Linked DNA regions of Homo sapiens: regions 2, 3, 4 and 5 are each linked to region 1. Evidence: promoter capture Hi-C in 16 types of primary human blood cells and fetal thymus (Javierre and others, 2016). All regions are on one chromosome and are shown on one strand. Each heading gives the region's core, a stretch centred on a gene start or on the middle of the fragment in contact. The rest is flanking DNA. Distances are from core to core; before and after follow the strand shown. Region 1 holds the start of PLA2G12A (phospholipase A2 group XIIA). Region 2 holds the start of CYP2U1 (cytochrome P450 family 2 subfamily U member 1). Region 3 overlaps HADH (hydroxyacyl-CoA dehydrogenase). Region 4 overlaps RPL34-DT (RPL34 divergent transcript). Region 5 has its middle 15 kb from the start of OSTC.

Evidence for each region. Contacts are between HindIII fragments. The CHiCAGO score rates a contact against its expected background, and 5 or more counts as called.
Region 2: a contact is called between the fragment with the promoter of CYP2U1 here and the fragment with the promoter of PLA2G12A in region 1, in 4 of 17 cell types (total B cells, naive CD8 T cells, fetal thymus and 1 more). The highest score is 10.7, in total B cells.
Region 3: a fragment that was not itself captured here is called in contact with the fragment with the promoter of PLA2G12A in region 1 in 3 of 17 cell types (activated CD4 T cells, fetal thymus and naive CD4 T cells); the score reaches 6.1 in activated CD4 T cells.
Region 4: a contact is called between a fragment that was not itself captured here and the fragment with the promoter of PLA2G12A in region 1, in 2 of 17 cell types (total B cells and naive CD8 T cells). The highest score is 6.1, in total B cells.
Region 5: a fragment that was not itself captured here is called in contact with the fragment with the promoter of PLA2G12A in region 1 in 3 of 17 cell types (total B cells, activated CD4 T cells and total CD8 T cells); the score reaches 8.5 in total B cells.

What each region holds. Positions count from the first base shown.
Region 1 is chr4:109,728,040-109,733,544 of GRCh38, forward strand. PLA2G12A (phospholipase A2 group XIIA) reads right to left here and starts at 2,031. Exons shown (of 4, transcript NM_030821.5): 1 at 1,563-2,031. The coding sequence starts at 1,770. It also overlaps a transcript of CFI not described here. RefSeq lists enhancers at 1,420-1,489, 2,149-3,025 and a silencer at 1,820-2,159. The HindIII fragment of the contact is 6,805 bases long and covers 1-2,416 here.
Region 2 is chr4:107,928,790-107,934,294 of GRCh38, forward strand. It overlaps CYP2U1 (cytochrome P450 family 2 subfamily U member 1), which reads left to right and starts at 2,760. Exons shown (of 5, transcript NM_183075.3): 1 at 2,760-3,344. The coding sequence starts at 2,855. It overlaps CYP2U1-AS1 (CYP2U1 and SGMS2 antisense RNA 1), which reads right to left and starts at 3,330. Exons shown (of 7, transcript NR_125929.1): 1 at 3,182-3,330. All of the region lies in intron 1 of LOC107986298 (a long non-coding RNA gene), which reads right to left. LOC124900751 (a long non-coding RNA gene) reads right to left here and starts at 2,796. Exons shown (of 2, transcript XR_007058221.1): 1 at 2,184-2,796; 2 at 1-1,114. RefSeq lists enhancers at 2,130-2,637, 3,298-3,367, 3,428-3,497 and a silencer at 2,498-3,087. The HindIII fragment of the contact is 6,450 bases long and covers 1,481-5,505 here.
Region 3 is chr4:107,998,018-108,003,522 of GRCh38, forward strand. The region is part of intron 1 of HADH (hydroxyacyl-CoA dehydrogenase); the gene reads left to right. Among named protein-coding and RNA genes, the nearest start is that of HADH, 11 kb to the left of the region's middle. The HindIII fragment of the contact is 2,945 bases long and covers 1,947-4,891 here.
Region 4 is chr4:108,609,508-108,615,012 of GRCh38, forward strand. The region is part of intron 1 of RPL34-DT (RPL34 divergent transcript); the gene reads right to left. Among named protein-coding and RNA genes, the nearest start is that of RPL34-DT, 8.2 kb to the right of the region's middle. RefSeq lists an enhancer at 1,245-2,802. The HindIII fragment of the contact is 918 bases long and covers 2,555-3,472 here.
Region 5 is chr4:108,633,175-108,638,679 of GRCh38, forward strand. No RefSeq gene overlaps it. Among named protein-coding and RNA genes, the nearest start is that of OSTC, 15 kb to the right of the region's middle. The HindIII fragment of the contact is 4,333 bases long and covers 115-4,447 here.

The sequences.
Region 1 (5,505 bases), core at 781-3,280:
GCACTTGCTATTCCCTCTGTCTGGAATGCTGTTTCTCCAAATAACCACATTCCCTCCCCTTACCACGTGCAGATTTCTTCTCAAATATTCTTTCATCAGTGAGGCCTTTGCTGAACAACCCATTTAGAAGAGTAAATTGCCTCCAACATGGCCCCTCGTCTGCCCTGATCAGACTCCACACTTCCCCTAATTTTACTTATTTACTAGTTTACTGCCCATCTCTCCCTCACCAGAACTCAAGCTCCACGGACAGAGATTTTTGTCTGTTTTATTAACTGCTGAATCTCAAATTAGAACAACATCTGAAGCACAGTTGGGACTCAAATATTTGTATAATGAATAGGAATGACTAAGTAAAACTGTAACATTTGCTTTAGGAAAGGCAACTATTTGATCCTTAAATTATGCACTTAATCCTCCGAACAAGTTCTACAAGAATAAAAACATCTTCATGAAGCATACGTTTAGGTGGTAACGTTTAGGCACAAATTTAAGAAGCAATGCAACATGTCTCAGCACCTGTTCAGCGCTTTAAAGTATACAAGATACAGTTCATCCTTTACTTCTATTAACATAAAACTAGAAATTATCTTGAAAATTGCAGGCAGCATGTGGCATCATAGGTTTACATGATACCAGTTCCTTTTAAGTTCACCTATACAATCAGGTTCCAACAATGAAGTCACTGGATCCCCGATTATTTTCCGCTGCCAGCATAATGAGACTCTAACCTTGGCTAATCTTATTGGAAACATGATCTCCCAACTGCTCTCTTAACATTTTCAATTTCCAAACAAAAGTCCAATATTTTTCTGACCTATTAAAATATTTAAGCACTCAAAAATGTGCTACAAAAGAACTATCTCTGCCTGAAATACTGAGTTGATTAGTACTCATACCGCCACCAAACAAATTCTCAGGTTCAAAGAGAAAGTTCAAAAAATATTAAAAGAGTAAATGAAGATAACTGTATTAACGTTAACCAACAATGAGGAGGAGGCGGGTCACTGATATCTAAGGAAAGAAGAGTTATCGGAACCCTTTCTCAACACTCGAGTACACCAAAAGTCTGTACAAAGGTCGCAAGTTATTGTCTATGGGTTTGCAGAAAAAAAACCATTTAATATCAATTATAGAGAAAGTTAATACGGCATGGTTTTTAAATTCTCAGTTTGCTTCGCATGTTCATCCAATTTACAGAAGCAAAAATGAGCTAAAACCAGTCTGTTCCACTCTATTCCCATGATTCCTACGTCAGTAAGTTCTTCGGCAACTTGGTGCAATTGAGGGGGGGAAAAGGTAATTCAGAAGCAATGCAAATGGGACGGGGGGTACACCTCTCCGTTAGAATGTGACCTCTCACATTCTAACAATAGTGGTGCGAACTTGTACCCAGCTTGCTCAATCACTAGAACGGCAAGATTCTAGCAGTGGTTAAGTTTTTCCACAGCCGAAGGACACCGTCAAGGTCTGCCTTGCATCTGTCACTCACACCTCCAGGATCTCCGTCACCCCAATCCCCCGAAAGCACGAGCCCTCGCTGGGCCCGGGTGCCCCCTCACCGTCACTGCATTTATACTGGCAGAGACCGTCCTCGCCTCCCAGGAGGTCCAAGGCGGCGTTCAGGTACGTGTCTATCTTATGAACGCCGTTCCGGATGGTCTTCAGGGTGGCTCTCCAGTCGGTGGTCTGGGCCTGCTCCTGGCACCTGACAACAGCGGCCATGAGGAGGAGCAGGAGGGTGAGCGCGGGGCGCGAGAGCAGGGCCATGCGCGCAGCGCCGGGCTCTACGGGTCCCCGAGCCGCGGCGCGGGGCGCGTCCCCACAGAGTCCCCAGGACGCGCTAGGCAGCGGCGCGGGCCCCGGACTTGGCAGCAGCCAGCTCCATATCCACGCCTCCTTCCCGGCTGGCCCTCAGGATCTCGCTGTCTTTACGTGAACCGCCTCGGGCAGGCAGCGCCGTCGCGGGGACGCGCCCGCTCACCTGGACCAGCGCGCCCGCTCACCTGGGCCAGCAACCGTCCCCTGTGCGCCTGCGCCGGAGCACGGCGCGTCAGCGGCGCACGGGAGGGGCGGGACGCGCAGGGGTGGGGCGGGGCGGGGGCGGGGTTGGGGGGGGCGGGGAACCGGGGGAGGGGCGCGCGGGGCGGGAAACGGGGGCGGGGCCTCCATGCCCACGTGGTCTCCGCGGCACCCTCCCAAGACCCTTGGTCCTGGTTCACAAGAGAACCTTAAAAAGTACCCAGGCCTGAGCCCCTTTTCTAGGGAGCCTGATTACGTTGTCCCAGGTGGCAGTGGGCGTCGGTATTTTTTAAGAAAGCTCTCCGGGCTGTTAACCGTGAAGCAAGAGTTGCAGAGCTAACCCCGGTGGCCTAACCTGACCAGTCGGGGCTCAGCACAGTAGCCCCGAGAGACAAGCTTTTCTGGGTGTGGACAACATCGGAGAAAATAACCCCTGTGCCCCCTCGCAGAGAGCGCTGCGAGAGGTCCAGCTGAGTTTCCGGCTTGAAGACGTGGTTCCATTGGCAATGTGGGCAGAGTCCGGCTGTCAGCTCGCAGAGCAGGGCTTTTCCTCCTTGCGTCCTCTCCCGGTCCTCCAGATCTGCTGTGGCCGCGGTTGGGGGAGCGGGATCTGGAAGATGCCAACCCATGCCTTGGCGGTGCCTGACTCTAATCAGGACGAGCTAAATGCTAGTTTAGACTTTCCGGAAAAAGAAAATGGGCCAACATAAAAATCATAAAATTCTCCCCTGGTAAGGAAGAAACAGTAGTGTAAACTTAAATACAGTAAAAAGTAAAATAAATCTTAAGGAAGTCATTGTTTTTCTACTCAAGGGATTTTGTAACTTGATAGTTACAGTGACGTTTGTTTCTCTGTACCTACCACCCTGCCCCCAGCATTGTGCGGGATCCATAAATAACTATTGCAGTAGTACTTTGTATCAGTTGTAAATATCTGGTTATCTTAGTATCACAGCAGTTTCCAAGAATTTTACAGTAAGATCCAGAGCAATGTTGAAAGTATTGGGCAGACCAAGCGCGGTGGTTTACGCCTGTAATCCCAGCACCTTGGGAGGCCTGGAACTCCTGAGGTCAGAAGTTCGAGACCAGCCTGGCTGACATGGTGAAACCCCATCTCTACCAAAAATACAGAAAATTAGCTGGGCGTGGTGGCGGGCACCTGTAATCCCAGCTACTCGGGAGGCGGAGGCAGGAGAATCACTTGAACCCAGGAGGTGGATGGATGTTGCAGTGAGCTGAGATTGCACCACTGCACTCCAGCTTGGGGCACAGAGCGAGACTCTAAAAAAAAAAGAAAGTGAGTAAGTATTGGGCATAGGTGTGTCCTTTCTATAAGAATTACCAATAAGTTCTAGGTTTGGCCTTTTGTGTTTGTTACAAACTAAATGAGCTTATAATAAACGTTCAGTGCACAGTTCATAAAAATTACATCCCTCTTTATTGAGTGCTTACTATGTGCCAGGCACTTCATGAATATGATCGCTCACATTCAGAACACTACTTTACAAGGATGCAGACTTTGGGCAAGTTAGAAACATAGAAAGGCATTCCTCCCTACAAACAGGGTAGCCCAACAAACGGTGTAGCTCCTGGCTGGAGACTGCCTGCACTTCACTCAGCCCCTCAACCAGGAGTCTTGGGCAGTGATTAATTCCTACCACAATGGAGAAGGGGGAAGAATGTTCCCTGGAAGGTATTATTATCTTCCTCTTTTACAATAAAAGAGTCGAGGTGAGAAGTCATGTGACAGTATCTACTCCAAACCAAGGCCTCTGTCTTCACAAAATACCACAGATATTTTTATTTTTTAATTTTTAGACAACACATTTCAATACATTTTAAAAAGGGAACTTAGAATCATTGTCTTAGCTTTCTGGAACATTGGTTTCTCAGCTCCAAAGTATGAAAGTTGGACTAGATTACCTCTGAGATACCACCACCTGAATCCTTAAACCAGGCTTGGTTCTTACAACTCCCTAGTCCAGGGACAAGACTTTCAAAAGAAAGGATAGAATGTAATAAAATAACCTAGTTCCAGCCCTCAGTTATGACCCAAAGCCTCTCCTTTCCCCCACTTTCTCTATTTATTTACTTCTTTGTGATCTCATCTAATTTCTTACACCTTAACTACAGCCTATACTCTGAGGAATCAGACGTAGTTTTCTTTGTCTGATCTCTCCTTAGGGATTAAATTCTCAAATGCCAGTTCTTCTGGCTTGATGCAGCTGTTCTCTTTCTCTCAAGCAAATCTTTCCACTGTCTTCCCCATGAGAATCACCACCATTTTTGTAGAAAACAAGACTCTAAGTTTTATTTTCACATTCTTTTCACATTTAATCATTATATATTTGTTGTTCTGCTGCAGTAATTACAAGGTTTACGTTTTCCTCTTAATTGATGCTGTTAAATACCAGGGATCTGCACTGACCACAGACTATCTGTATAATTTGTAGGGCTCAGTGCAAAATAAAAATACAGAGCCCCTTGCTCAAAAATTAAGAATTTCAAGGTGATGGCCGGGTGCGGTGGCTCACGCCTGTAATCCCAGCACTTTGGGAGGCTGAGATGGGCAGATCACGAGGTCAGGAGATCGAGACCATCCTGGCTAACACGGTGAAACCCTGTCTCTACTAAAAATACAAAAAGTTAGCTGGGCATGGTGGCGGGCACCTGTAGTCCCAGCTACTCGGGAGGCTGAGGCAGGTGAATGGCGTGAACCCGGGAGGCAGAGCTTGCAATGAGCCAAGATCGTGCCACTGCACTCCAGCCGAGGCCACAGAGCAAGACTCTGTCTCAAAAAAAAAAAAAAAAGAATTTCAAGGTGATAACAGCAGAGCATTAAAATAAGTACAGAGCCCTTTTGACTGTGGGGCCTTGTGCCACTACACAGGATGCATGCTCTGATTTACCATATCATATAAATTTTTTTTTTTTGAGTCTGGCTCTGTTGCCCAGGCTGGAGTACAGTGGCACAATCTCAGCTCACTGCAACCTCCGCCTCCCAGGTTCAAGCTATTTTCCTGCCTCAGCCTCCCGAGTAGCTGGGATTACAGGTGCCCGCCACCACACCTGACTAATTTTTTGTATTTTTAGTAGCAATGGGGTTTCACCAAGTTGGCCAGGCTGGTCTCGAACTCCTGACCTCAAGTCATTCCCCTGCCTTGGCCTCCCAAAGTGCTGGGATTACAACATGAGCCACTGTGCCCAGCTCATCTCACGTAACTTCTAGATGACCCACTTCCATCTTTTCTTCCCAAATTTTGGCATAAACTGTTTGAAAAGAGCCTTCTTTACAGGACACTTTCATCTAACCAGCAAAACCTGTTATTTTCATGACAGACATCATTAGTTGCAAATCCACAGCTGTGTTCCAGGTCTTTCCTGCTAGAGAGTGGCTAGCTTGTCTATATATACTTTGTGGTGGGCAGAAGCTGAAGATAGGAAGTCAGTTATGATACAGTAATCTAGGTATGGCATAAGTAT
Region 2 (5,505 bases), core at 1,510-4,009, 1.8 Mb before region 1:
TCTTTATAACAAAATAAGTACTCAGCTATTTTGGATATACTGTGACCAACAATTCCGGCCAAAATCCATGTCGAACAAGGATATAGGTAGGAAAGTGGGTGGTTTAAAATTATCTTTAGGGTCTCAATAAAAATGATTTTTTCCCATAATCCTCTATCTTTCTTACCACTTCTGCCCACCCAAAAGATCTCTTAGTATTCTCTTCCTTTACTGCTTCTGCTATTATTTTTTTACCTATATAAAATAAGAGAGATGAAGCAGAAAGTATTCCTTTATGTGGCAAAATCGCCCTGAATGTAATTTGGGGAAATTCATCCTTAAGGAGCACTGAATGAGCTGTGTGGTTTCATGTTTAAAATAGTGCATCCAGCTGGGCATGGTGGCTCTCGTCTGTAATCCCAGCACTTTGGGAGACTGAAGCAGGCAGATTACCTGAGGTCAGAAGTCCTAGACCAGCCTGGCCAACAGGGTGAAACCCTGTCTCTACTACAAATACAAAATTTGCCGGGCGTGGTGGTGCGGGCCTGTAATCCCAGCTACTGGGAGGCTGAGACAGGAGAATCGCATGAACCTGGGAGGCGGAGGTTGCAGTGAGCCGAGATCACACCACTGCATTCCAGCATGGGCGAAAGAGCGAGATTCCATCGCAAAAAATAATAATAATAAAATAAAAGTGTATCCATAATATTATGAACAATATCCCTTCCTGTATTCGTTTGCTAGGGCAGCCATAACAAAGTACTACAGACTGGATGTTTTAAACAACAGAAATTTATATTTATATCCTCACCGTTCTGGAGACTAGAAGTCAAAACTCAAGGTGTCAGCAGGGTTGATTTCTTCTGAGACCTCTCTCCTGACTTGTAGATGGCTGCCTTCTGACTGTGTCCTCACATCCTCTTTCCTCTCTGTGTCCTTATCTCCTCTTCAGACACCAGTCATATTGGTAAGAGCCCATCCACAGGACTCCATTTTAGCTTAATTACCTCTTTAAAGGCCCTTTCTCCAAATACAGTCTTATTCTGAGGCACTGGGGGTTAGGACTTCAACATATAGTGGTGAGGAGAGGCTGAATTCAGCCCAGATTTCCTATCTGCCCCGCACAGCTATTAACCTAGTGAAAATGAGAGATTTAGGAAAACACTACACGTGCAGTTACATCCTGTACAATATAAAAGGGTGGCTGTTGGAGTTGTTAAATTAGTCACAGCTTCAACTATTTTAAAATCATTTATGAATTTAAATTGCTTGTATGGGATGATGTATATAGTGGCTACTGTTTCAGAGAGCAAAGCCCTAGAATCAGATGACATCCAGAATGTCATGTTGAAGATCGTATCTGCAAACAAGTAGTTTAAATTTTTAAAAACTTCTCTTAATTCAAAAATTCAAAAAAAATGAGAAAAGTAATCTCACAAGTAGTGGTTAATTATAGAAGATGAGAGGTGTGGAGGTTTTTTTTTTTTGTTTGGGGTGCATAAGCTTAAAATAACATGAAAAGCATGTCAAAAAGAATATGAGAACAGAGTGGACTTGAAATTTAACATATCCTACTGGCATCACTTGTTTATAGAAAAATAAAATGGATCATGTATTTATTTGAGGACTCACTATGCTTTCTTTGATCACATTTTTATAGGTACAGCGTGGTGTTCAAACTTTTAATGTATGGAGAAAAATGAAACGGCTAGAAAAATGGCCCAGTACAGACAATTCTATGCTCAATCCAACTTGAACAGAAACTACAGGATTTGGCCTAAACAAGACTGAAAGGGAAGCCCTTATCAGGAAAGCCATTATCTGAGAAGATAAAATAAAGTAATACTTTGTTTTTAAAGTATTATACAATTCATATCTAATATTTCAACCTCAGCCTTTCAAGTGTTGTCTAACACCAATAATAATATTGCCACCCCTCCCTCAACCGGTTATCTTCTTTTCATATTTCTAGCTACTTAAATCCACCAAGCAAATTCTGGTTTCGCTATTTCTGGATTTAAGTACATTTTCTAATGCACCCAGGCCACACGCAGGAATGGACACAGCTTTCGCTCTCCGCATAAGTTTTCTAGCCCAGGGCAAGCTCTCAGAACGTGACTCCTCGTGCCTCGCTGCCCGCCCCTCGCTCCCCCCACTCCCGCCATCATCCCTTCCGCAGAGTTGGCTGCCAAGCCGACACCCACAGATTCTGCATTCCACGGCTTCCCAGCATCCTGCTGTCTCTGCGTGGAGGAAAGGGTGCTGCGAATCCCAGTTTAGATAAGGAACCCCGTCTTTTCACTACTACACCGAAGCATGCAGGAATAGGGCGTTGACCCCATTCTCCCAGCTCAGGGCACAGGTGCTAAGGCCGACCCATCTCACGGGCCTGTTCACCAGTTTCCCACACTCAGTACAGATCCTAACACGGTTTATGCACTTCATAACCATGCGTTTGTGTTTGTCAACTGACAAACGAGTGATAATGACAAACGAATGACACAAGGGAAACCAACAGCCAATCAGAGCGCAAGGTTGTGTTGCCAGCATCCCAGTTTCAGGGACAGTCACCGCCAAGCCCGACCCTGCAAAGGGTCGTAACCGGACTTCGGGGCAAACTTCAGGTCCCCCGCCTGCTAGCCCGCCAACCCCCTCCGCCAGGCAGCCGGCGCGCCTCCAGGTTCCGCCCAGGCGTCGCTGAGTGGCGGCGGCGGGGAGAATGCGCGCGGCGCAGCCAATCCGGGGGCGTTCCTACACCCCCTGCCCGCCCCCGACCTTCCAGAGCAGAGCAGGACACTGGCGCCGCGGGTCAGGCAGCTGCGTGCGCGTCTCCTCCAGGCAGCAAGGGGAACCCGAGGCCGCCGGCGCCCGGACCATGTCGTCTCCGGGGCCGTCGCAGCCGCCGGCCGAGGACCCGCCCTGGCCCGCGCGCCTCCTGCGTGCGCCTCTGGGGCTGCTGCGGCTGGACCCCAGCGGGGGCGCGCTGCTGCTATGCGGCCTCGTAGCGCTGCTGGGCTGGAGCTGGCTGCGGAGGCGCCGGGCGCGGGGCATCCCGCCCGGGCCCACGCCCTGGCCTCTGGTGGGCAACTTCGGTCACGTGCTGCTGCCTCCCTTCCTCCGGCGGCGGAGCTGGCTGAGCAGCAGGACCAGGGCCGCAGGGATTGATCCCTCGGTCATAGGCCCGCAGGTGCTCCTGGCTCACCTAGCCCGCGTGTACGGCAGCATCTTCAGCTTCTTTATCGGCCACTACCTGGTGGTGGTCCTCAGCGACTTCCACAGCGTGCGCGAGGCGCTGGTGCAGCAGGCCGAGGTCTTCAGCGACCGCCCGCGGGTGCCGCTCATCTCCATCGTGACCAAGGAGAAGGGTGAGCGGGAGGTCGTGGGCTGTGGGTACGCGGATGCCGCGGATGAGTCTCCAGGTGCGTGGGGGCTGCAGTTCCTGTGCCCCTTCCGGCCGCCCGCGCCCCCAGGCTGCCTCACACCTGCATCCTGAACTAACAGGTGATGGTGGTGGCGGCGCTTCTCCTTTCTGATGCCTTTAAGATCCCATCAAGTAGTGACGGACGCGTGACTTGCTCATACTCCAAGATCATAAGTAGAAAAGTCATCCGGAGATTGAGGGAGAGTAATAGGGATGGCGGAAGGACAAGGTGGCAAGCCAGGTTCCATCTTTCCAAAAGTAGCCTTCCCTTCCACCAGCTGTGACCTCGGAGAGAAACTTTGGCCCCCATGTTAGAAAGAGGGAAGGATATTCTTTTTACCTTGTGGGTTTCGAATGTAAGAATTTAAGAAGATAATTTCCAATAAGATAAAAAGTCCAGAAAACACAGAAGAAGCCTATTACCAAATCTCCGGCTTTGGTTCATAGCCTCTGATTCCTGCGTATGGGAGTCTAAATTGGACATTTTTGGGGGTTGGAAAACGTGTTATCTGCTGCAATAAAATGTCCAATCTAACCTGTCTCTACCGTCCCCCTTTGTCTTACTGGCTGGCTTAGGTCTCTGACTTCTTTTCTGAGTCACTCCTACGCATCAGTCAGGTGTTAAATGCCTTTTCCTTGGGGAAGCCTTTTCTCACAGCCTCTGCAAGTAGGGTAGCCTCCCTTGTTAGAACCAGGTCCCTTGCCCAAGCACTTTTCCTTCACTACACTTTTCAAAACTGACGCTACATAACTTTATGACCTTGGGCCTGGATGTCAGTCTTCACCACTGTTCTGACATCTAGGAGGACAGAGTCATTGCTGTCTGAAACATAGTAGGAGTTCAAGTATCTATTAAATGAATGCTATTTCCTGCCCCTATAACATGGCAAAGAAAGATCTAGGCTTTTCAGAATCTGATAAAGCCAGAGTTTTGCATCAGGATTTTAAACGGAAAAGACAAATATTGTATGATCCACTTATATGAGGTGCCTCCTAGCGTAGTGAAATTCATAGGGACAGAAAGTCTCAGTTTTGCAAGATGAAAAAAGTTCTATGGATGGATGGTAGCAATGGTTGCACAACAGTGTGACAGTACCTAATGCCATTAAGGTGTGCACTTAAAAATGGTTAAGATGGTAAATTTTATATGTATTTCACCACAATTTTTAAAAAAGAAAAGAAAAGCAGGTAGGTTTTCTCCAGGCACCCATGAGCTCAGAAGAGAATTTTAGGTAGAAGCAGTATTACGAAGGCATGTAGTGGATGAGGTGTGAACTGTGACATTTGTTTTTCAGTGGGGCATTTAAAGTATTATGATCTTTATCCCTACTCATTTAAAATCCTTAGATAATGTCTTAGTGTTCATCCATGTTGTGGCATATGTGAAAATTTTCTTTTGAAGACTAATATTCCATCATATGTACAATCATCCCTCCTTATCTGTAGGGGATTCCTTCCAGGACCTCCTGCGAATAACAAAACCCTAGGATGCTCAAGTCCCTGATATAAAATGGTGTAGTATTTGCATATAGCCTATGCATATCCTCTTGGATACTTTAAATCATCTCTAGATTATTTATAATACCTACTACAATGTAAATGCTTTGTAAATAGTTGTTATACAGTATTGTTTAAGGAATGACAAGAAAAAAAGTCTACACATTCAGTACAGATGTGTTTTTTTGATCTGCGGTTGGTGGAACCAACAGATGTGGAACCCATAAATGTGGAGGGTCGACTGTATATACCACATTTTGTTTACCCATTCATCCATTGATAGACACTTGTGCCTCCAACTTTGGGCTATTGTGAATAATGCTGCTATAAATAGAAGGGGGCAAATATCTGAGTCCCTAGGAGTTACTTGATCATGTGGTAATTCTAGGTTTAATTTTTTGAAGAACCATCATACTATTTTACAGTGAGTGCACCAGTTTACATTCCCACAGGGGTCCCAATTTCTCCACGTCCTCACCAACACTTCTTTTTTTTTTTTTTTTCACACTTGCTTTTAAGATTGGGCTTAAATGTTACCTCTTTGAGAATGTGTACCCTGAGATGCTTCCCTACCCTGCAGAAGGAGATGAACTTCTATGATACCATTG
Region 3 (5,505 bases), core at 2,169-4,668, 1.7 Mb before region 1:
GTCTCATCTTGACTTTACCAACAAATGTCTTTATTCAGTCAACATTCCCTGAGGGCCAGCCACAGCCAGGCAGGGTCTAGGTTCTCAGTGTACAAAGATGAATGACATTTGGTCAGGAGCCTACAGTAGAGGAGTTCAGATTACTATAACACAGTTTGGTAGGTGCTGTGGTACACAGATGCAGGGATGTTACAGGGCATATGGGGGACATCTAGCTTAGGGCTGAGAGGATCTTGGGGAGTAGGCTTACTAACTGGAAATGATTGTTTTGTTTTGTTTTGAGACAGAGTCTCTCTCTATCACCCAGGCTAGAGTGCAGAGGCGTGATCTTGGCTCACTGCAGTGTCCACCTCCCAGGTTCAAGCAATTCTTCTGCCTCAGCCTCCTGAGGAGCTGGCATTGCAGGCGTGCACCACCATGCCTGGCTAATTTTTGTATTTTTAGTAGAGACAGGGTTTCACCATGTTGGTCAGGCTGGTCTCTAACTCCCGACCTCATGATCTGCCCGCCTTAGCCTCCCAAAGTCCTGGGATTGCAAGTGTGAGCTACCGCGCCCGGCTGATTTTTAGGCTTAGTTAATAGGTGAAGTTGGGGAGAAGGTGAGGCCAAGAGAAGGGCTGGAGTTGAGAGGCAGATGTAGGGAGCTACTGGCCTTGTGGTGGTGTTAAGACTGTCATGCATGAGGCAATAGTTGTGTTCTTTTTGTTTTTTTGTTTTTTTTTCTTAGTAATAGCCATCCTAATGGGTATGAGATCAGAGGTTTTTAACATTATACTGTGATGGACATTAGAGATTTCATGAATCTCCTTCATGGTTCCCGAAAGGTTGGTAAAGATTCCTTCTCTGACCTTTGTTGTACATATTGGTCTTCAATATGCATTCTTATGGAAAAAGGTGTTCATGGCTAAAACATTTGAGAGCCGCCACACTGAATGATCTCTGGGTTGTCTTCCTCCTCTCAAAATTGATGATCCTGATTATCTGTAGCTAATAAGCCTGAACAATAAATGCTTTCGCCAATCTCTTAAAGTAGTTGAGAAGCTAGGTGTGTTAGTTTCCCTTCTGTGATAGAGAAGAAACCTGTGTTGGAGAGCAGTGAGCTTATGTGTCTGTGGCCATCTCTGACCTGATTCACACATGTGCCCCTCACAGACAGGCACAGACACAGGGTTGGCATGCCTCTAGCCTTACAGCCTCTTGGATGAAAGGTATAAGACACATTCACATGTTGGAGTGAATTAAGCACACATCCATTTTGAAATCACAGGGCTGGATACCACTTAAAGAATATTGATCTTGCATTGGGCAACGCATAGCAACTGCCCTACATTTCCCCTTTTACCTAGCGTCACAACCACCAGTACTAGAAAGCAGTTAATCTGCTCACCAAAATAACAGAGAGAGACTTTAGTGGCATTTTTTCCACTTGGTAATTGACTAGACTCTGGCTATTAGCTCCTTTTTTTTCCTTACTATCCTTTTCAAACTAATAACGTGACTTCTCATAATTTTAAAGTAACTTGATGCTTACACAAAGTTTATCATAAAGGTTTCTAGCAACAAAACCAGTCATGACTTCTTGAGAACTTATTTCTAAAATAATTTACAAATTGAGACTTATGAAAAAATAGCTCTGTCATTCAAGTGTTCATTTCATGAGTATGAAATATCTCCCTTGTGCTAGACATCAGGCCAGGTAAAAAGTAAGATGTGATTGCTGCTCTTGAGAAACCTACTGTCTAGTGGAAGAAATACAGGTATGAACAACTAATTGTAATGAAGGCACAGACAGCCTACCTGTCATATCTGGGATTTGATCTGAAACAGATGAAAGTTATAATAGTTTACATACCTTACCTTAAAGTATGGTTTTTAAATACTTAAGATGTGATATGACATATAGTGTGTATATATATCTTATGCTAAGGAAAAAGGGACATTAAAAAAGCTTATGTTAAAAGATATATGTATACATTGTACTGCCTGTATGTTTGTGAAATTTGTATTTACTGGAAATTCTCATTGGCCTGTAGATAGGAGTGTTCCTAAGCACCCTATATTGGGATTTGTGGTAACAGCAGCTTGACAACCTGAAGTGGATGATGCAACAGCACTTTTGAAAGGTCTCTCCGTACTATCTTGATTTCATCATCTAAAGTTGGTGTTGGCAAAGAGAAGATAAGTGTTTAGGGTGTTGGATATCCCAGTTACCCTGATTTGATCATTACACATTTTAGGCAGGTATCAAAATGTCACATGTACCCCAAAAGTATGTACAGCTATTACATATCAGTTTTTTAAAGAAGAAAAGGTTGGTATGGTTAGCTTTTCTATTTCAAGTGTATCATTCATCTTTCACATCTGGGATTTCTCCTATGCTCTGGTTGGTTAATAACTTTTATTCTGAAATCGGTGAGATTCTTATGACATGAAATAGTCTATAACCAGTTAAGTTTTTATTTCTCTGTTCTGTTCACATCCTGGGGACTGGGCTGCCATTACATAACTGAGCAGCCATTGGTGGTTCACACCAGCGCCACACCCAGTTATTTTCTTTCAGTATTTGAATTCCTGCACAAAAGATCTGCTGTATCTGCAAATCACTAGAGGCACAAAAGAAGTGATTACCTCTACTAAGGGTTGGGAGAAGTTTCACTAAAGGAGAGATGGTGTCCATGTTAGATTATGAAGGGTAAGTTGAAGTCCATGAAGCAGCAATGAGGGAGCCGGACATGTATGGCAGAGGAAACCACATGAACAAGGGCACAGAGCCATGAGATAGCACAGAGGAGGGAGACGTGTGGTGTGGCTGGGGAAGACTACAGAATCGGGTTACTACCGTCCAAAGCATTTGTTATTTAGCAGTTATTGACCAGCTATCATATTCAAGGCATGTGATAAGTACTAAGGGCTACAAAGACCAAATCAATTTCTGCCATTAAGGGATTTTAAATCTAAGAGCAGAGATTAGACAGAGATCTAAATGACACAGTTTACTTTGGTGTAAAGTAGTACAATAAGAGCAGTAAAAATCTAGTTCTGAGGTTTCAAAATAGAAAGTACATTCATTTGGAAAAAGGCTTCATGGAGAGGGTAGCATTTGAAATGGGCCTGAATAATGGATAGAACATTTCTGGACAGCAGTTAATGGTTGGGATTAAGGAAAAAGTGTTGTCCAGAAAATGGTGACCTACAGAATAGTGGTACCAGTAATGAAGGCCAAGGAGAATTGATTTTAGGGTCAAGGTGATAACTGCAGCTTAGATAGATTATTTTGGTTTCAGGCACAGTTGGAAGTATGAGAACGATTGGAATTTCAGAAGGAAATTATATTGGAAACAGAACCTTGAAGGAAGTCCTTGTTTATAGGCTTAGAAGATCAAGAGAGGTCAATTAATATGGCTAAAAGGAACAGACAGATAAGAAACTGAAGAGTTTCAAAAATGAAACTTTTATTGGCAATGTACAGAGCTGTTGTAGAAGATGAAGCCAAAGAACAGGCATTGACTTTAGCAATTTAGTAGACCATTGATAAGTTACAGTAGTCCCCCCTTACGAGGGGAGGGAGTACATTCCTAGACCCTCAGTGGATGCGTGAAACTGCAGATAGTACCAAATCCTATACATACTATGTCTTTTTGATCTGATAACCCAGTCAACTACCAAGTGACTAATGGATTGGGTAGTATACAGTGTGGATATGCTGGACCAAGGGATGAGTCTCCTCCCAGACAGGACAATTCAAGATTGCATCACACTACTCAGAATGACATGCAATTTAAAACATGCATCATTTATTTCTATAATTTCCCATTTAATATTTTTGGACCATAGTTGACTGTTGGTAACTGAAACTACAGAAAGTAAAACCACAGATAAAGGGGGGACCAACTGTATCTAATTTCATGCAGCAGTGGTGGTGGAAGAAGCTACTCTGATAGGAATGTTTGTGTTCCCTCCAAAATTTATGTCGAAGCTGAATCCCCAGTGCAGCAGTATTAAGAGATAAGGCCTTTAGGAGGTGATTAGGTCATGAGGGTTCTGTATTCATGAACAGCTTAGTGCCATTTAAAGGGGCTTGAGAGACCAACTTTGCCTCTTCTCCCTTCTGCCATATGAGGACACAGTGCTCGTCCCCTCCAGAGCAGGGGTCCCCAACTTCTGGTCCGTGGCCCATTAGGAACCGGGCCACATAGAAGGATGTGAGCAGCTAGCAAGACTTCATTTGTATTTACAGCTGCTCCCCATCACTTGCATTGCTACCTGAGCTCTGCCTCCTGTTGGATCAAGAGTTGCATTAGATTCTCATAGGAGCATGAATCCTATTGTGAACTGTGCATGTGAGGGATCTAGGTTTCGTGTCCTTGTGAGAATCTAATGCCTGATGATCTGTCACTGTCTCCCATTATCCCCACATGGCACCATCTAGATGCAGCAGAACAAGCTCAGAGCTCCCACTAATTCTGTATTGTGGTGAGATGTATAATTATTTCATTATATATTACAATGTAATAATAATAGAAATAAAGTGCACAATCAATGTAATGCACTTGAATCATCCCTAAACCATCCCCTCTTCCCTGCAAGACGGTAGAAAAATTGTCTTCCGTGAAATTGTCTCCCATGTCTTCCTGGTGCCAAAAAAGGTTGGGGACCTTTGCTCCAGAGCATGCAGCAGCAAGGCACCATCTTGGAAGCAGAGAACAGCCCTCACCAGACACTGAACATGCTGATGATCTTGATCTCTGTTGTTTATACATTACCCAGTCTTTGGTATTTTGTTATAGCAGCACTAACAGACTGAAATAAGCCATATTACTAGAGTTTAGGAATTTAATGGCTCAGGAGAAAGTAGAAGCACCAAGTGTAGTGAATAAAATAGCAGCTAACAAGCTTTGTGCACCTTCACATGCCTGGCACTGGTCTAAGCATGTTAAACACATTAACTTCTTTAATCCTCACAACAGTTTTATGAGGTGGGTACCTTTGTTACTAACCTTTATGACAGATCAGGAAACCAAGACATAGAGGCTTCGTAGCTCACCCAAAGTCACACAGTGAGTGAGTGGCTAAATCAGTGTCTTAGTCTTTTTTTTTTTTTTTTTTTGCTGCTATTAACAGAATACCTGAGACTGGGTAATTTATAAAGAACAGAAATTTATTTTCTCATAGTTCTGGAGGCTGGGAAGTCCAAGATCAAGGTACCAGCTTTGGTGTCTGGTGCAGACCTACTCGTTGTGTCTTGCTGGGGGAAGAAGGCTGTCTGCACATGGCAGAAGGTGGAAGAAAGCTAGACGAACTTTCTCCGTCAAGTCCTTTTATAAAAACCTTTAATCCCATTCATGAGGGAGGAGCCCTCATGGCCTAATCTCCTCTTAAAGGCCGCACCTCTCAATACTATCATATTGGCAGTGCCTGACTTTTGAAGAGGACACATTCAAATCATAGCCAGGTTTTAAACCCAGGAACTCCAACTATAGGCTTGTTTCTCCACATATCACCATG
Region 4 (5,505 bases), core at 1,764-4,263, 1.1 Mb before region 1:
GGATTACAGGCGTGAGCCACTGTGCCCGGCCAGAATTATCGCTTATATAATTTATATTTTGGGGTTGACATTAGTAAATATAGAAGTGGGGGAGCAGGACATAAATGTGGGGAGGGGGAATCATCGGAGCTTAGGAGTGAAAGACTGTAGTTTTACTTCAATATTTCCAGTCCCTGGCACTGCACTGACACAAAAAGAACCCTCAAACGCTTATGAGTAAATCGGTAAGTTGATGAATGAATAAAGTAGCAAAAAATCAGGATCCGTGAGCTATTCTGAAGGATTTCAGAGATGCTGCAAATTTGCAAGAGTAGGAATGACCATGGAGAGAATGTTCTTACATAGTTCAGTTTAACTGAAATATTTGTGAGATACATACTCTGTGCTCTGCACCTGCACTTCGGGAAAATACAAAGACAAGGAACAGTCCCTACTCCTACATAACTCACAATTCTGTATGTGAACAGGGAGAAATCGCAATATTAATAGCAATTATATGAGACTGAAGATACTACATAGCAAGAAAGAGGTAAAACATCTGTCCTTTCTCAAGAAACCAGTTTAAAAAAAAAAAAAGTAAAAAGATATGAGAGGAAGAGTTTGAAGGACAGCTCATGTCTTATTGAGTGGGCCAACATTGAGGATGTGGAATTTGAAATACGCCTTGAGGCACTGTTAGAATTTCCAAAGACAAAGGTGTTTCACAAAGAAGAAAAAACAAAAACAAAACCCTGGAGATGGGAAAGTATAGGATATGCCTAGAAGGGCAGGTTGTGGTCATATTAGGAAGACCTTGAATGCCATGCCAAGGAATCTGTATTTAACTGTAAGCACTGAAAATCACTTAAAGTGTCTGAATGAGAAAGTTACATGGTTAAAATCAGTGTTTTAAAGAAAATGTGCCTGTCAGAGTTTTGTAGAATCTTGCTGCTCAAAGAGTGGTCAAGGACCAGAAGCATGGGCTTTACCTGGGAGCCTACTAGCAATGCAGAATCTCAGGTCCCCATCCCAGACCCACAGAATCTAAACCTGTACAGTAGCAAGAGCCCCAAGCAATTTGTTTGCACATTAAAATTTGAGAACCACCGGTATAGAATATAATTGAAGAGGAAGACTTGACCTAAGAAAACCAGTTAGAGGACTAGGCCAAAGATAGCTGAACAAAGAGGGTGGCTAATGAGGGAGCCCGGAAAGGGAGAAGACAGAAATGACACAGGGCTTTTAGCCTGGATGGCGATGGCATATTTCTGCCTCACTCATTTTCCTAATAGGTTAATCCTCTTCCCTTATTCATTAAAGTCATTGTTTTCTGTTAATACATTTTTTCTACTTGGTTCTTCTATTCATTAGCAAGCACTGCTTCTTTCTGACTGTGCTCATAGGTCATAAAGCAAATGAGAAATTTTCTTGAGCCTCGTTCTTAAGGGATGCAGATTGCAACTACTGCTGTGCTATACGCTGGAGGAAAGAAATCACATAAAGCGATTAGAAAGGAGAAAAAAAATAAGTGAAACTACCTTCTCATGTACTTCAGGGTTTTCCTCCCTTCTGAGTTTAATATGAATCAAACAGGTGTGCATTCAAAGCATGCAAGTGTGTCTTCATTGGCTTTTAATCATCAGCTTGAAGAAAATTCAGATCTCTCAGAAAGAGAGAAAAGTAAACAGCTGAGCACTGTGACTCATTTACACTTCAAATATACTTTGAATTGGTTATTCCTCAATTAATCAAATAGCTGGTGTATCCCTAAAGTAGTATAAAGTGACGCACTGTGTGAAATCAATTTTTCTTTCCAAAATCATTAAATCCAGTAGCCTGTGACTACATCCCTGCTAATTCTGGTACCAGTCCTTTCCTCCTCCATTAACTTTGGCACGCCTAACAGCCTGTCAAGAATAATTTCCCAGGACGTAAATAATTCAGAAATTAAAAATTAATAAATAATAACAGAGAACTACTGGGAAATAGGCTGGGTCAATTAGTGCGCTCTGCATTCTGTTTCTTCACAGCAGGGGGAGGCAGCCACATTCGTTACTTGAATCTTCCTTTCGATTCTGCAGTCTGATTTACAGCTCTTCATTACTGGATCCAGTCAGACGCAATTACCTCCATCACTATCTCAGTTCCTAACTTCAAAGAAACGAACGTTTTCTTGTCTGCTTTTTTTCTCCTTGAAGCAGGCTCAGCTTGACATCCCTGGAATTTCTACCACGCAGACTAATTAATAAGTCTTCGACTTATCATATTCACTTCTCTTCTTTGATGTGCTACCTTAGTCAATCATCCCATTTAATTAGAATTTCAATGATAACTTTACTTATCTTGTGGCTAGATGTAAATTAAAATAATGGGATTTTAATTCTCTTTCGTATGGGGTTATGACATTTTGGAAGAAAAAGTTTCAACACAAACATGATATTATGTACTTTTTACTTTTCATGTGGGGGTGGGGGAGCATTTTGCAAAATTATTTTCTTCTTGCTACAAAAGAGTATTGCTGTTGAGCAAGCAATAATGAAAATGCACTGGATTTTTCTATAGCATCTTTTCACCAAGCTTTCATAGGAAAACAATTGTCTTCATTTGCATAAATAATTGGAACAAGACACAGGACGTGGAACAAGACACAAAGGCAGTGGCTACGTTTTGGGAAAAAAAAAAAAAAAAGGATCTCCAGAAAGTCAAGGAGTTGACACACTAACCCTTTTAACTCTTTTGCCCTTTTCTGTCAATCCATGCTATGTTTCCATTTTGATAAATTCTATAGTGGTTTTTCTAGAGTTCCCCAAAATAACACAAGGAAATAAAAATGTTCTCCTAAGAACACACCAAACATTAGTAAGGTATAAGGTGTAACAGTGATGTGCAAAACTGGTTATAAGGAAGAGCAGAAGGCAGCATTTCATTTCTAGAAAACAATACTAAGACCATTTATCTATTGAGCAGCCATGGTGTGCCAGCCTCAGCTACGTGCTTTATCTCCGTTAATTCCCGCAGCACACCCACAATATGGGATTCCCACTTCCATGTTACAGATAAAGAGACAGTCTCAGTGAGGTTAACTTGCTTTCTGAAGTTCACAAAGGTAGCACGTGAGGAGAAAGAAATCAAAAGACAAGGCACGAGAGAAACAATTTAAGCCTTTAAGCATAGCATTTAAAACTTTCCATCGTCTGGCTTCAAACTGCTTGCTAAACTCACTCTCTTCCTACTTTACTACATTAACTCATCCAGAATAAAACTCCAGGCATGAGTTTAGTATCTACTGTATTATACCTTATTAATAATATATGCCTTATTAATACATTTTTGATGGTTGCTTTAATGCTTATAGACATTGGCAGAAATTCAGTCATTGTGGATGTAAATAGGGGGCATGTTTGTATATAAAACACCATGGTGACCTCAATCATTATAAATACATTGTTTTTAAATAGCAAGTACAAACAGAAAATCATATACTATATATACAAGCTTAAAAGAAGAAAATAAGCTTTGCTCAGATTTTCTTATTTTTTCCCAGGAATAAAATTATTAGCTGTTTCATTGGTTGCTTTTAAAAAAGTTACTAACAATAGGAACATCAATGGGAATTGCACATAATTATTCTGCCCTTAATCTCAATCATTCCCTTCCTCCACCCTCAGTAACAATGTCCAGTAAGACAAGAAGCAGAGGTTACAATGACCAATAGAAATTTATTTCATTAGTAAGATGTGAAACCACTGTATTTATACCATTTTGAATCTAACCTTTCGGGGATTTAGTACAGTTGTTCTTTAACAATAGAACTTCGCTCATTTGCTACTTAAGACATGATTATTTAAATTAAAGTTAATTGGTTTCCTTACTCCCCTTTAGGGCTTTAGGCTCAGAACATTTCTATTAGAAAAATCTAATTTGTTTCAAACTCCTATTTCTAAAATTTACAGTGGTTATTTAGAGTGGCTCTGATATTTTAACTCTTTGTAGCAAAACTTGTACAATGTGTTTGTGTTTTAAGCTAAGTGTTATTACCAAAAAGTCAAAAAGTTAAATTTTTTTTAAACTTTATAAAGTAAAAAAGTAACAGTAAGCTTATTAAGGTTAGTCTATTATTGAAGAAAAAACTTTTTATAAATTTAGTGTATATAAAACATATATATAGTGTGTATATAGAGTATATATATTTATCTTTTTATATATAAATATATATATAGTGTATACAAAGTGTATAGTGTTTATAAAGTCTACCATAGTGTATAGTAATGTCCTAGGCCTTCCCATTCACTCACCACTCACTCACTGACTCACCCAGAGCAACTTCCAGTCCTGCAAGCTCCCTTTATAGTCAGTGCCCTATACAGGTGTACCATTATCTTTTATATCATATTTTTCTTCTACCTTTTCTATGTTTAGATATGTTTAGATACACAAATACTTACCATTGTGTTACAATTGCCTACACTATTCACTGCAGTAACATACTGTACAGGTTTGTAGACTAGAAGCAGAAGGCTATACTATAAAGCCTAGGTGTGCAGTAGACTCTACCATCTAGGTTTGTGTAAGTACACTCTATGATGTTCACACAAAGACGAAATCACCTAACATATTTCTCAGAATGTATCTGTCATTAAGCAACATATGACTATAATTGGGCCATTCACAAATAATCACGAGATTAATAAAAGGCATTGATTCATGGTGCAATATAGGCTATGAGGCCCAATAATGGAAAAACGTGTAAAAGTTCTACAATGAAAATGCTTTTAATCTCTTTACTTTATCTCCATAGCTGTTAAGTCTAACCTTCGCTAGAATACTAAATTTTATTATTTGATATTCTTCTTGAATAATTCCTTGGTAGGCGCTAATCTCTACTTATTCATTCATTTAAAAAATATTTTTGAATGCTTACTGTTTGCCAAGCACTGCTCTAGGTATTGGAAACATGTAAGTCAAAAAAAGGAAAAAAGAAAAAAAGGACCAAACTTCCTAGCCTCATGGAGTATACTTGTAGTGGAGACAGAGTACACTTGTAGTGGAGACAGACGACACACAATAAGCACAATAAATAAATATATAGTATGTTAGAAAGTGATAAGTGTGAGGAAAAAAAGAACCTGGTGGGAGGAACTAAAAATGCCAATGGAGGACAGCAAAAAGTGCAATTTAAATGAGATGATTAGGATGGGCCTCATTTCAAAAGTGACCTTGAGCAAAGGCATAAAGGAAATGGGAGCAAGCCATGCAGATACGTGGGGAACAGCATTCCAGGCAGAAGAACAGCCAGTGAGACATGAAAACCATGATGTCTTACGCAAATTAGAAAAGGCGCCCCATCACCCTCCTCCAATATGATTCACTACATTAGTTGATCTAAAGAGAAAATTTAAACTCTCATCTTAATAGATAGTAAGAAGGCAATTCATAAATTAATATCCCTTCCTGACATGGTAAAAAAAATAAATAAATAGTAATCAGTGGCTATTTTCTTAACATATGACATAGTGGAGAAACATG
Region 5 (5,505 bases), core at 1,031-3,530, 1.1 Mb before region 1:
TTCCTGCATTAGTTTGCTAAGGATAATGGCCTCCAGCTCCATCCATGTTCCTGCAAAGGACATGATATTGTTCTTTTTTATGGTATAGTAGCCATTTTCAAAAAGACAGGAACAAGCTTTTCTAACATTTGGAAGTTTTATATTCGTTCTTTTTTCTTCCATTTTGTTTTGTTTTTTTAGAGACAGGGTCTTGCTCTATTGACTGGGCTGGAGTTTAATGGTACCATCCTGGCTCACTGCAACATCAAACTTTTGGGGTCAAGCAATCCTCTGCCTCAGCCTTCCAAGCAGCTGGGACTACAGGCATGTACCACCACACGTGGCTAATTTGTAAAATGGTTTTTGTTTTAAAAAAGAAAAAAAAGATGGAGTCTTGCTACGTTGCTTAGGCTGGTCTCAAACTCCTGGCCTCAAAGCGATTCTCCTGCCTCGGCCTCCCAAAGCAATGGAATTATAGATGTGAGCCACTGTGTCACCCCTTTTTCTTTTTGACATATATTACCATTCCATTTCCTCCATAGAATTTTAAGCTAATATATTTTTATGTTGAAATATTTTCCTGATTGGTAATTCCCACAATTCTCTCTCTTTTTTTTCTTTTTTTTCTTTTTTTGAGACAAGAGTCTCACTCTGTTGCCCAGGCTGGAATGCAATGGCGCAATCACAATCTCAGCTCACTGCAACCTCCACCTCCTGGGTTCAAGTGATTCTCCTGCCTCACCCTCCCAAGTAGTTGGGATTACAGGCACCCACCACCACGGTCAGCTAATTTTTGTATTTTTAGTAGATACGGGGTTTCGCCTTGTTGGTCAGGCTGGTCTCGAACTCCTGACCTCAGGTGATCCACCCGCCTTGGCCTCCCAAATTGCTGGGATTACAGACATGAGCCACCGCGCCCGGCCCTACAATTCTATTTTTAAGAGAGAACAAGCAAAAGAGAGAGTCATGGAGTCTTGCCACTTGTTTATCCCATGGATAAAATAAGGCGTTGATTGCTGCCTCTTCAACCATGCTCTCTGCTTCATTCTCAAGGGATTCCCTCAGGAAGATTCATTTTTTTGACAATTTGGGGGAGATGAAAGAGGATAAGGTTGCTAAATGAAAATCGTCATCATTCTCCTTCACTCCATTCGACATTATCTCTGAGTTCACGCCGTCCCCCAGTGACAGCCAGGATATCCTGCTCCAGTGTAAGATGGGAAAGACACCAAGCCCCTGGTTTTTAAAATTTCTTCACAATCAGTCAGGTATTATTTACAATTTGTTGACTATGTACAAAATGCTAGTATAGGCACTAAGATGAACAAAATAGACAAAAATCCCTGCCTTACTGGAGATTACCTTCCAGTGAGGGCTGACAGACAATAAATGAATGAAGGAATAAGTAATATGTCAATAGGTAAGTAAGTAAAAAACACGATATGAACAATAAATGCTATACAAAATATAAAGCAGATGCCGGGCACGGGGGCTCATGCCTGTAATCCCAGCACTTTGGGAGGCCGAGGCGGGCGGATCACGAGGTCAGGAGATCGAGACCATCCTGGCTAACACGGTGAAACCCCGCCTCTACTAAAAAATACAAAAAAATAAGCCAGACATGGTGGCAGGCGCCTGTAGTCCCAGCTACTCAGGAGGCTGAGGCAGGAGAACGGCGTGAACCCAGGAGGCGGAGGTTGCAGTGAGCCGAGATCGCGCCACTGCACTCCAGCCTGGGGGACAGAGCGAGACTCCATATCAAAAAAAAAAAAAAAAAAAAGTATATATATATATAGCAGATAAAGGGGATAGAATGCAGGGTGGAAGTAGAGGGTTGCAGTTTGAATATCCTGGTGAGGGGAGACTTCCCCAAGAAGGGGACATCGAAGCAAAGACCTGAAGGCAGTGAGGAGGGTGGCCATAAGGATATGTGGGAAAGAGCTTTCCAGCAGAGAATAGTCCGGAGGCAGGAGGAGGTCCTGAAGCTGAGGGAAAGCGCAACAGAAATGAGGTTAGGGAGTTCTCCAGACACCAGGTTGTGTGGGTCCTTGCCATTCATCTCTAGGACCAGTGCGGCCCTCAGACAAGGGGCCTCTCCTCTGGGTCCCATGCTTTAGAGGGCGCTGCTCTGGCTTTCACCTGCCAATATCCCACCCCAAAAGCAAAGAGTTCAGGGGACCAAGGGGCATGCTAACCCTAAATGTATGCTCTCTTTCTGGACATAATCCCAGAATCCCTGCCCGAGGCACCCAAACCCACGCACATGCTCATTTCATGTGAGTCAACATGTTCCCTCCTCAAGGAGTATTTATATTTTTGGTTTTGTAATTGCTGATGGTGAGTTGAAAGACTGACTTCTGCTGAGGGAATTTTAAGCAGAGGAAGCTGGTAACTCAATCTGTTTGGAGTCAAGGATCACTCTACTCAATGTAACACAAAGCTAAGAGGTAATGCAAAGGACAGGATCGGCAGTGAAGAAAACACGGGATTGCCATGTCTTCAGAAATCGACATCAGAAGCTCCCATGAGGTTTGTCTTCTGAAATTTCCTTTTCTGTTTCAAAAATCTGAGCTTAACAATATTGTCAGTGGTTCTCACACTTTAGATTCACTTAGGATTCTTCTGGGAAACTTGTTAAAATTCAGATACCCAAGCTCCATCAAAGATGTCCCCAATCAGAACCTCTGAAAGTCAGGCCAAGAACTTTCATGGTAACAGATCTCCTAGCTGATTTTCACCCAGATGGATCTTGAACTGCCCTTTCACAACGATGTGGTACAAACTGTGTACGGTTGGGCATTAGACAAACATGGGTTTAAATCATAGGTCTACCATTAACCAGTTAGGTGACTGAGCAATTTTCTTACCTTCTGTCCATCTTAGTCACCTCACCTGTAAAAATGAAGATAAATAATCATAATTTCAGAGGTTCTGAGGGTTGCTGAAATACCTTGTGTTGTCCACATCGCAGAGCACATGGTTCATGGTAATGATGCTCAGTAAGCCTCTTTCCTGCTTGCAGTACAAGAGCTGCCTTCTTACCTACTTACAGAGAAACACAGAAAATGCATCAAGATGGCCAGGATGAAGTCTTCTCATTTAGAGTGATTGAAGAGCAGTGATAATATTGGAAATAAACCAAAAAGCCAACTGATATCCTCCTGTATCATGTTTTACCCAAAATGATTTTTTTTTTTCTCTTTTTAAGGAATTACACACACACACCCCCATACACACACACTGGCTGATAGTATCAAGCTGTCTTTGATTAGCTCTGGGCAAATGCATGGCAGGGCATCTGAAAACCACAACTGGAGACATCATTTCTGATGGGCCTAATGCTCTGGGTATTTCCTTTCAACTGAACTTGGGGAAAGTACTTTGATATAATGTACATATGGAAATATTTTACAACATTCTTTAAAAGTTAGATACTTTATTCAGGATATATGTAAAACACACTTTTCTCTTCAACGTGTATGGCTAAATTCCTTGTCATTTCTAAGCCAGCGTATTTTTGTGTTGTTTTGTTAAATTGATCTCAGTGTGTAAGAAAGGACCATATTGACAGCCCTGGCGACAGTCTTTTTTCTGGGCTTCTGGCAGACAGCAGGAACAGCTGCTGCTTAAGCATACCCCAAATATTTTACCTCTGGAAAGATCATTTCTGGAGGTGAGCAGGCACTTTGATTTCTCATTCCCTCTGAAAGGTGTCGGTGGGAATGGTGGGGGAATAGCTGGCCATTTACTCGGGGCTTTGGTTCTGAGGCCATTGCCACATTTTTTTTTTTTTTTTTTTAAAACGGAGTCTCGCTCTATCACACAGGCTGGAGTGCAGTGGCGCGATCTCGGCTCACTGCAAGCTCCGCTTCCCGGGTTCACGCCATTCTCCTGCCTCAGCCTCCCGAGTAGCTGGGACTACAGGCGCCCGCCACTGCGCCCAGCTAATTTGTTGTATTTTTAGTAGAGACGAGGTTTCACCGTGTTAGCCAGGATGGTCTCGATCTCCTGACCTCGTGATCCACCCGCCTCAGCCTCCCAAAGTGCTGGGATTACAGGCTTGAGCCACCGCGCCCAGCCACCATTGCCACATTTCACATGTGCAATCAAATTGCAACCTGGGTTCTGGTTCAAATTCTTTTGAAGTGATTAAAGCCTGTTGTTTTAAATGCCATTCCTAATCTTAGGGTAAAACATTCCTTGGGAAAGTGTTCTTCAATCCAAGAATCTAACAGTGGTTACTTTCAGGGAGAAGGAATAGGGGAGGGGAGAAGATGATAAGGGGAAGGTGACATTTGCTTTGCATTTTTAAAATTATTTGTACTCTTTGAATTTATAACTCCAAACATGTCATCTTATTTTTTAAAAAAAGGAATCGTCTGTATAATGGTGTTGTAGACCATTTTGGTTATTAATTCTCTTTAAATTTCTGAATTGAAAAATGAAATCTAGTAAGTATACTTTTGAAAGCTTAGCTAGAAATTATTTATTTTTAAGATTCAATTACCAAAACGTGCCAAATATACTTTTTTCTTTTTTAGTTTACAAGCCTGTATGTAAAATATTTGTAAGACAACTAGATATAAAAAATACCCTGGGTTTGATATTTTATTCATCTGAAAATGATGCTTTCACAAGATTTTTTCTTTCATCATTAAAGAAGTAAATCATTTGCATTTTAAAGATATGCTCGAATGCTGTGGGATGCAGCTTTTCCCATTTATGTAATGTTTAATTGCATTTACTTGATCACAGCATTGAGGCAAGTTTCTTTAAAATAAGTTTGCCTTTTCATAATGCTTGCGACTATAGTTTGTTAATCTCAAAGTATCAAGAATGCACTTTGATGAGGATAAAATTATGCAGGACTATGATTCCTATGAAAGAGAACTCCTGCCCTACTCTGGCCACAGAAAAGAATTACATGTGGGCAGCTGTGAGAAAAATGCTGTTGTTATTTAGTTGAATTGCAACAGCTTTGCAAGTGAGGTAAAAAACGTGTAGATCTACAGTTATTTTTCTTTAACACATTTTAATATCTATGTGCCTGTGTGAGTGTTTTTTTGTTTTAACCTGGGTCCCTAATGTTGCAAAACAATTTATTCTTCACAGAGGACAGCTCCCAACTCTTTACCTCTCTTCCTAATGCAACACTCACTCTCACTCTCAGCAGCCTTATAATATCTGTAAATGTAGAAACTATCAGTTATGAACTTCTGTAACTCCCTTTTCATCTTTGGCACCTCAAAACTTTAATGTATGTAAAAGCATGGGCTTTGAAATTGGTAAACTGGAGCTCTATCAATCTCTGGCTGTGTCAACTTGAGCATGTTGCCCAATTTCTATGAGCCTCAGTTTTCTTATCTAAAAAATGAAACTAATAATGCCTACTCCAAAGAATTGTTGGATGGATTAAGTAAGACAACCTAATATAATTGCTGTGCATAGTAAATCCTAACTGTTGGTTGCCTTATACCTCTAATCTTCTTTCTGCTCTCTTTTCTTTAGAAGATGGCATGCATCTTT